2 separate regions of the Homo sapiens genome follow, and region 1 is linked to region 2. Evidence: promoter capture Hi-C in human tissues and cell types (Jung and others, 2019). All regions are on one chromosome and are shown on one strand. The core of a region is centred on a gene start or on the middle of the fragment in contact, and the rest is flanking DNA. Distances in the headings are between cores, read along the strand shown.

Region 1 (4,511 bases), core at 1,906-4,405, 46 kb before region 2:
GAGCAGGAATGAACTCAGGAAGTGGCTCAGCATGGGGGGAGGTGGCCTCGTGTGCTCTCTCCCTTGAAGTCCTGGACATAAGACCCTTCCAAGGGCATGTGAGAACCCATAAACCTGTGGGCCACGGACAGGTCCGATGCTCAAAACCCAGTGAGCAGCTGTCTGCAGTCTCCAATGGACCCTGCAATTGGCAGGAGGGGAAACTTTATTTTTAAATTAAAGCAAATCCAGATCTGTCTCCTAGAGGGCCTAGATGCAGGAACACCCCTGTAGCAATAAGAACACCCAGCCCGCACATCTTGCTTCCTAAAAACCATTCTCCAATGAAAGGGACCAGGGCTCCTTAGAGAAATGGCTGATTCTGGGGCTGAAGCAGGGAAAATACAAGATGAGCTGGGAGCATCTTGGAGTATCAGAGAGTAAAGAAGTGCTCAAAAATAAACAGGTGGGGCTGTGCCAGAGACACACAGGAGCCAGCCCTAAAGAACTCCCAGGGCCTAAACCTAGAACAAGCTGAGCAACAAAACGATGAGGTATTAGATTAAATCCAAAGTCAAAAATAAATATTCACGAGTCTATACTGAGATAAATAAATGATTAAAGGCTGGGTGCAGTAGCTCACGCCTGTAATCCCAAAACTTTGAGAGGCCGAGGTGGGTGGATCGCTTGAGCTCAGGAGTTTGAGATCAGCCTGGCCAAGATGGCGAAACCCCGTCTCTATCAAAAATACAAAAAATTAACCAGGCATGGTGGCACGTGCCTATGGTCCCAGCTACTCAGGAGGATGAAACGGGAGGATCGCCTGAGCCTGGGAGGTGGAGGTTGCAGTGAGCCGAGATTGTGCCACTGCACTTCAGCCTGGGCAACAGAGTGAGACCTCATCTCAAAAAATAAAAAAAAAAAAATGCTTGAATAAATAAATAAGTGGAGGGAGCCTAGACAAATCTTCCTTACAGATGAATTTCAAAGGGGTGGATTCTTTTCCCTCTAGTGGGTAAAGCTTACTTCCCCACTGCCTGGACTGCGGACTGGACACCCTTCCAAAGAAAGGCAGTAGGGAGGTATAGAAAGGGTTAAAAAAAATAAGAAAGAAAACAAAAAGTAACTTTACAGTGGAGAAACCTGGCAAACACCACCGTAACCAAGTGATCAAAGTTAATATCATCAGAGAAAAAACAAACAAACCAACATTGAGCTTGAATTGAAGATCAGGTATCAGCAAACACTTACACAAGGCTTTCTGGGCACCACCCACTGTTCTAAGCACTTAGCCTGTGTTTACTTATTTCATTCTTCCAACAGTCCTTCAAGGTAGATGCTATTAATATCCCATTTTACAGATTTGAACACCGAGGGGAGGGAGGTTACATAACTGGCCAGAGCCGCCCTCTCCCCTCTCTGCCATCATGGACACTTCCCTAGATAAGGTCTGAGAAGCACTGGTTCTGGGGAAACTGAGGCAACATAACCTGCCCATGGTCTCCAAATGCCACCACATCCCACACCCCAGGTATCTAGATAGTTTGCTGCTCTGTCCCTTCTCTCAGTGGCCAGTTCCTGCTCTATGCCAGGCTGGGCACAAGGTCACAAAGATGGATAAGGGCCCTGTCTGCCCTCATGGGACTCAGTCTGGTGGGGGCAGCAATGGTAATAGAGTAGGACCCAGGCTAAGAAGGGGCAGAGCTGGGTGTTACAGGAGCCAGAGGTTGGGGCAGGGATGGGGGAGGGGCACTTGACCCAGCCTAGAAAGTCCAGGCAGGCTGCTTGGAGGAGGAGCCATCCAAGCTGAGGTGGAGGTCAAGTGAGAGTCCACCAGGCGGAGGAAGAAGTGTCCCAGAAGAGCCTGGCTCTGACTCCAGACCTCTGTGGGTGGGGCTTGAGTCTCCCCTCCAACATCTGGGCCCCATTTGACCAAGACAAGATTCCTCCATCTGCTATGCCACCCTAACCCCTGGCTGTTGTGTCAGGAGCAGCTGTAGGACAGCAGCCCTGCCCTCATTCCCACCCCTAGCAGAACCTTCATCTCTGATTTTAGCCTTCTCTGCTGAGAAGTGGGCCTGCAGCCCTTTCTGGGTTCTGAGCTGCAGGGACCTTGGTGGGCCTTTGATGCATCCAGCAAAGCCCTGAAGGAGGTGAAGGCAGTGGTGACTGGGGCATTGGGTAGGGAGATGCCTGCTTTCTCTGCTGCTCCCAGTCTGCATGGCAAGTTAAAATCGTGTCGCCAGGCACCAGCCCGAGATTTCCTAATTAATTAGCAAATTCTGGAGGGACAGGCAAGCTCTCTGCTCGCCTCCCCATTCACACCCCCTCAGCTCCAGCTGCAGCCCAGGGCCTGGGATGGGGCCTTGGGCACCATAGATGCTGCTAGAACAGGGGGCAAATGAATGTGTACGGGAAGTGCTTGAGTCCTTAGCTCCGGCCCTCTGTGCCTTTGCCCATTCTGTGCATCGCGCCTGCATCGTCCCTCCCCGGAACTATGTCTGGTACCCAGTAGGCCCTCAATAAACATTTGTTCAATAAACAAATGAACTGTGGGGGACAAGGACTGGGCTTTTGAGATCCAAGAGCCCTGTGGAGCTGGATATGGGTTTTGGGAATGTGGTGAGTGCTGTGCAATGGTCCTGGGCTCCCTCTGGCTGGCCGGGAGGGACCACAAAAGCTGGTAAGGAGAAGCAGTTGAATGTTTCTGAACACCTACCATTGTAGGTGGTGGGCGTTCCTCTAGCATTGCCTGTTCCTAGAGGAGTTGCTAATTAATTAGGAAATCTAAGGCTGGTGCCTGGCGACACGGTTTTAACTTGCCACGGTGCCAGTGAGTGTGCCATGCCAGTGATCATGCCCAGCCCAAGACCCACACCGTCTTATGCAAGGGTCACAATGACCCTGAGGGGCATACATTTATCCCCATTTTGGGGACCCTGGGGCTCAGCGAGGTTACAGTAATCAGACCAAGTTCCCACAGCTAGGAGGTGACAAAGCGGCATAGGAGACAAGAGTCAGCTCATCCCACTGCCTGCTGCTCGGTGACATTTGGGGACCTTGGGGTTCTTTTCAGGAAACGGCAGGAAGACCCTTGGACTGGGAAGGGAAGACAGAGGTTCTGTTGGGCGCCTACTATTGACTTGGCTGTGGACTCCTGGGCATGTCCCTTGTGTCACGGGGGCTCAGTTTGTCCGTCTGTAGTGAGGAAGGCTCCAGGAAGTCTGTCCTGGCTGAGATGAGGGGCCCCTGCCCCCACCACAGAGTTGCCCCCTCCCCACTCCTGGCACCCTCTCCCCAGGCAGCCCTGGGCAGCCCCAGGTAGCCCGGCCAGCAGGCCCCACTCCAGCCCTCTGGGTCTGGCTTTCCAGTCCAAACCGTCAGCCAGTCTCTGTCGGCAGAACCAGACCCAGTTTCTGGGAAGCTGCAGCCACATCCCACCCCTGCCTGGGGTGGGGGCCCCCTTTCTCCTGCTGGGCCCGGGCCCCATTTCAGCAGCCTCATCACATTCCCCACGGCCTCAGCAGCCTGATGGATGGATGGATGCAGCTTCCACACTGGGCTGGCAGAGCAGGCGGCTGCATGATCAGGTCTCCTGCTGGGCGGAGGGGCCTTTCCCCCAGGACCAGGCCTCATGGGCCCGGCCAACCAATCCCAGCATCTGGGCACAGGACACACTTCCCCAGACTCTGCACCCCTCCCCTGTACTCTAATGCGGTCTAGACTCCCGGACCTGCCCTCAGTTCCCCATGAGCCCTCGCCCACCCCCGCACACATCCCTCCCTATTTCTGTCTGTGGAAAATACACCCACCCTTCCAGGCTCAAATCAAATCACCCATTTTCCAAGAGACCTTTGCAGGCCAGGTGTGGTGGGTTACGTCTGTAATCCCAGCACTTTGGGAGGCCGAGGTGGGTGGATCTTCTGAGGTGGGGAGTTCGAGACCAGCCTGGCCAACATGGTGAAACATTGTCTCCACTAAAAATACAAAAGTTAGCTGGGCGTGGAGGCGCATGCCTGTAATTGTAGCTACTCAGGAGGCTGCGGTAGGAGAATCGGAGAATCGCTTGAACCCAGGAGGTGGAGGTTACAGTGAGCCAAGATCATGTCACTGCACTCCAGCCTGGGCAACAAGAGCGAGTCTCCATTTCAAAAAAAAGAGAGAGAGACTTTTGCAGAGCCCGCTCTGCTGCCAGGCAATGGGGACACATTAACCCTGCCTCCCTCAGGCTCCTATCGTGGCCGGCTGTGGATCACAGAGGGCTTGAATGACACTCAGGTGTGTCTGTCTGGCCCTCTCCTCTGAGCTTGTGTGTGTGTGTGTGTGTGTGTGTGCACGCGTATGTAATAAAATGCCAATAGCTAATAATTATTAAGCGCATTGCATGTGCTGCCACTGTTCAAAGTGTTTCCCAAGGATTAACTCATTTAATCCTCCCAAAAACTCTGTGACCTAGTCCTACTACTGCCCCATAAGCTGGGGGCCATATCTCCCGTCTGTCCAGGACAGTCCTGGCTTTGGCCTGTTGTCCT
Region 2 (4,402 bases), core at 1,121-3,620:
GGCATCCAAGGTGATAGCAGGCTGTCCTTTCTGAGCCACCCTCTCCAAGGCCAGACCTGGAGGGTACAGTTAGGGGGGCTCTGAGCAACTGTGACTGAATACAGCGCTGACTCAAGGATTGGCACATTTGTCTTGTTCACACTGGCACACAGTAGGTGCTTTATATGCATCTGTTGAACGGAAGTTCTCAGACTTCCCTGTGGCTGTCGGGAAGCTGTGGTGGAGTAATAACACATCATACCTGTTTGTGTTCACTATCACTATTATTTATTTTTAGTCCTAAGTTGAGTACCTACTACGTGCCAGTGATTTTGCATATATTAATTTCATCAGCCCTCACAGCAATCCCACGAGGTGGGATTTTTACCCTAAGTTAACAGATGAAAAATCTGAGACTCAGAGAGGCGAAGCAACTTACCCAAGGTCGCACAGCTTGTGTGAGCTAAGCCCTCATTCACCCAGGTCTGCTGACACCAGGGCCAGGCACAGAACCGCTCTCCACCCGGACTTTACTGGGCAGAGAGCACCTAGCTTAGAGAAAGAGAAAGAAGTCAGCACCCACTCCCTGGCTCAGCTGCTCTGGCAGTGCGCCCTGGCCCAGATCCTGCCCCTTGAGAGGCCTCCAGCCCTATCCCACGCTGCTGCCTCAAACCTTATTCATTCTTTTTTTTTTTTTTTTTTTTTTTTGAAACAGAGTCTCACTCTGCCGACCAGGCTGGAGTGTAGTGGCACGATTTCGGCTCACTGCAACCTCCACTTTCCCGGGTTCAAGCAATTCTCCTGCCTCAGCCTCCCGAGTAGCTGGGATTACAGGCTTGTGCCACCACACCTAGCTTTTTATTTATTTATTTATTTTGAGATGGAGTTTCTCTCTTGTAGCCCAGGCTGGAGTGCAGTGGCATGGTCTTGGCTCACTGTACCCTGGGTTCAAGCAACTCTCCTGCCTCAGCCTCCTGAGTAGCTGGGATTACAGGCGCCCACCACCACCATGCCTGGCTAATTTTTGTATTTTTAGTAGAGACGGGGTTTCACCATGTTGGCTAGGCTGGTCTCAAACTCCTGACCTCAGGTGATCCGCCCACCTCGGCCTCCCAAAGTGGTGTGATTACAGGCATGAACTACTGTGCCAAGCCCACACCCAGCTAATTTTTTATATTTTTGGTAGAGACGGAGTTTCACCATATTGGCCAGGCTGGTCTCGAACTCCTGACCTCAAGTGATCTGCCTGCCTTGGCCTCCCAAAGTGCTGGGATTACAGGCGTGGGCCACCGCGCCTGGCCCCTCCTTATTCATTCTTCAAAACATTTCTCTGCTGCCACCAGTGAACCTGGCTGCCTCAACTGGAAAACAGACACAAGAGTGCCTGCCCTGCCTGATGCACAGGTGGGCATGAAGGAGAGAGCGAGATGCTATGTGTGAGTGAGGGTCTCAGACACTGACATTGAGTGCTGTGTGCATGGGAAATTTTGCTAAAGGATCTTCACACCTCAGGAGCTGGGATGTGTGTGTGTGTGTGTGTGTGTAAATGCAAGCGTGCTTCAATGTGAGTGTATAACTGTCATTGTGTGGGTGTGAGTGGGTATGTACACATGGGAGACTGTGTATTCATGTGTAGGTATGTGAGTGTGTGTGCGTGTATGTAAATGCAAGTGTGCATATATATGTGTGTGTATGACCATCAGTGTGTGAATGAGGGGTATGTACACATGGGAGAGTGTGTGTGTAGGTACGTGCGAGTAAGTGTGAATGACTACAGAGGCCGTCCAGGGCTGGGGAAAAAAACCTGTGCCTCAGTTTACTCTGCCCTAGACAAGCCCTGAGAGGCAGCCTTGCCCCCCTCTTCAACCATCGCTGGAGACCCTTCATCCCGCCGCCAGGCCACCAGCGCACTATCTACCCGCACTCTCTCTACCCCACCTCTGGGCATATATTATTTTGCATATGTTAATTTCAATAGCTCTGAATGAGGCGCTGACAGTCAAAAGTCGCTGAACTCACAGCTTAGGGCTCTCAGGCAAGGCCTCTAACTTCTGCGAGCCTCACTTTCATCCTCTAAAAATAGGCCCAATGGAACTGTTGTTCTTGCGCGCACCCCTCCTCGCTCCCAAGCCTTCGTGCCCAGTCGTCGTTGGTGTGGTTAAATTCATGTTGTTTACTTTGTGCCCCAAATGCCAGGAGTCTCCCCGCCCCCTCTGTCCCCTTCCCTGACCTTCAGCCCGGGCAACCCCAGGAGGTGGGGGAGCCCCGAAGGGACAGAGATGGCCCTCCCGCGCGCTGCGGCCACAGGTGTGCCCGAGCCTCCCGGCTGCGCTCCCCCGGGCCCCGCCCGCCGCGCCCCGCGGTGTCGCCCTCCCCTGGCAGCGGCGGGCACTGCGCGGGAGGCGGCGGCGCGAGGCGAGCCGGGCGCGGCGGCAGCAGGGACGACCCAGGCTGGAGCTGAGGCCGAGCTGAGGGCGCCCGAGCCCCCCGCCCCGCCCGTCCTCTGGCTCCGCAGCGCTCAGCCCCGGGCCCGCGGAGACATGAACGCCCCGCGGCCCCACGCACCCCGGGCGCAGCGGCCCGGCCCCGCGGCCCCGTGATGGGCTCCTGCGTGTCGCGAGGTGAGGGGGCCCGGCCGGGGGCGGGGGGATCGGGTGCCGGGGACCCGCGCAGTCCCCTCGCCGCTCGGAGACCTGGGGGATGGGGCTGGCGACCCGCCCTTCACGGCCCCGCCGCACCCCTGGGGACGCGGCGTCCTGAGGGGGACAGAGCTAGGGACGGTAGGGGGCGGGGGCAGCGCAGAGAGCGCACGTGCAGAGGTCACCGCATCCCCGCCCCAGTTTGCAGCCCCGCAGGTGACACGAAGCAGGGTCCCGTGCCGTGCCGCGCTCTCATCCCTACAGCCACACACCCCCTGCCGGGTGCCTGGGAACCAGCTCTGGTTCTTCCTGGCTTCCCGGAGGAACTGCGGGCACCGGGAGAACTAGCAGACCCTCCCTTTCCCACCCCTCCCCAAGACACAGGTCTTACCAGCTCACCCCCACAGCCCCTTCCCACGTCTTACCGGGTGCCCCCATCTGCAGAGCCCCTGAACCCTGTTGGCAGGAAAGGGTTAATGGTGGGGCACAGGTTATAAAGAAGGTTCCCCTGCCCCCTAATCCTCCTCCCCACCCCCATCCTTGGACAGGGGACAGAAGGGCCAGAGCACAGCTGATGTTCCCAGTTACCCCTGGGCCTTTCTCTCTGTGTCTGACCTGTCACCCTCCACTCTCCCCCACGTGGTACCCAAGGAGGTGGAGGGGACCTGCCCTTGCCTGGGGGCCCAGGGCAGGCCCCAGCCTCTTCTATCTGTGAGGAGGGGACACACAGTCTTGCACAGAGATTGGGGGATGGGCAGTTTGGTCTTTGGAGCCCCCTACCTCCACCCCCACCCATCACCACCAGCTTTCCAACAGGCTGTTGGGCAACATTTTAGACAAGCGATTGGGCTGAGCCCTTCTCCCACCTTGGTCTGTTCACCCCACAGTGGGATCAGGGGGGTGTGACTGGGAGTGGGGGTGGCTTTGGCCTTGGTTCAGGCTCTGCAGGCTGAGGCCAAACCCACTGACCACCACCACACCCATCACCCCTAGTAGCTTACCCAGAATAGAGGGGACCTTGTCCTGGGGGTATTGAGCAAGGAGCACAATGACCTTCCCCCATCCTCTGGACTCGAAGGGCTTCTGCTCAGGAGTTCCTGTGGGCATTCAGGTAAGTGGCTCAGGATGTCTCTGGGAGGTATCGGGGTGGAATCCCGGCTGGGGAAGGGGAAGGTACAGGGTCAGGCTGTGTGGGGTTCCTTTACTTATCCATGCATTAAGCTGATATTAACATGATAGCTGCCGTGTGCCAGGCACCGTGTGCATGCTGGGCATCCAGCAGCAAGGAACCCAGCACAGCACCTGGTACGGGAGGCCTGCAGCCTAGCGGGAGGGGAAGGAAGTTTGAAGAGTGAGGAGTGCTGAGGGTTCTTTAGGAGCACCAGGCTCCAGAAACCCCAAAGGTTCTAGGCAGTCTCTGGCTGGGGCCAGCTCCAGGTGGAGGGGATCTGAGTGTTTCCTCAGTGTCCCTTCCCCTTCACTTGGCCACCCCATATCAGGCACCTTGGGGTCCCAGCCCAGAAGGACTGGCCTTTGAGCTGAGAACCCACTGAGCATGGGACAGAGGCCGGGGAGGAAGAGACGCCTGCTAAGGTCACCCTGAGAGGCTGGGGCCCAGGTCCTCTGACCCCACACCTGGGGCTCCCTCCACCGCCCCCTCTGCCAGGGCTCTTTGGGGCCACAGCAGCCAAGATACGCTCTCTCCACCCTTCCTTCTGCAGCCTGGGCTTCCTCAGCGCCCCCCAGATCTAATTGTATAGTCCAGCCTTGTCCCCCTCCTGAGA

What was found. Contacts are between HindIII fragments. The study calls those that stand out against the background at their distance.
Region 1: a contact is called between a fragment that was not itself captured here and the fragment with the promoter of FAM131C in region 2, in 1 of the 25 tissues and cell types used here (pancreas).

What each region holds. Positions count from the first base shown.
Region 1 is chr1:16,117,912-16,122,422 of GRCh38, reverse strand. No RefSeq gene overlaps it. Among named protein-coding and RNA genes, the nearest start is that of EPHA2-AS1, 35 kb to the left of the region's middle. RefSeq lists enhancers at 1,762-2,318, 3,590-4,263. The HindIII fragment of the contact is 6,854 bases long and covers 1-4,511 here.
Region 2 is chr1:16,071,619-16,076,020 of GRCh38, reverse strand. FAM131C (family with sequence similarity 131 member C) reads left to right here and starts at 2,370. Exons shown (of 7, transcript NM_182623.3): 1 at 2,370-2,600. The coding sequence starts at 2,579. RefSeq lists an enhancer at 1,608-2,107 and a silencer at 2,316-2,475. The HindIII fragment of the contact is 22,024 bases long and covers 1-4,402 here.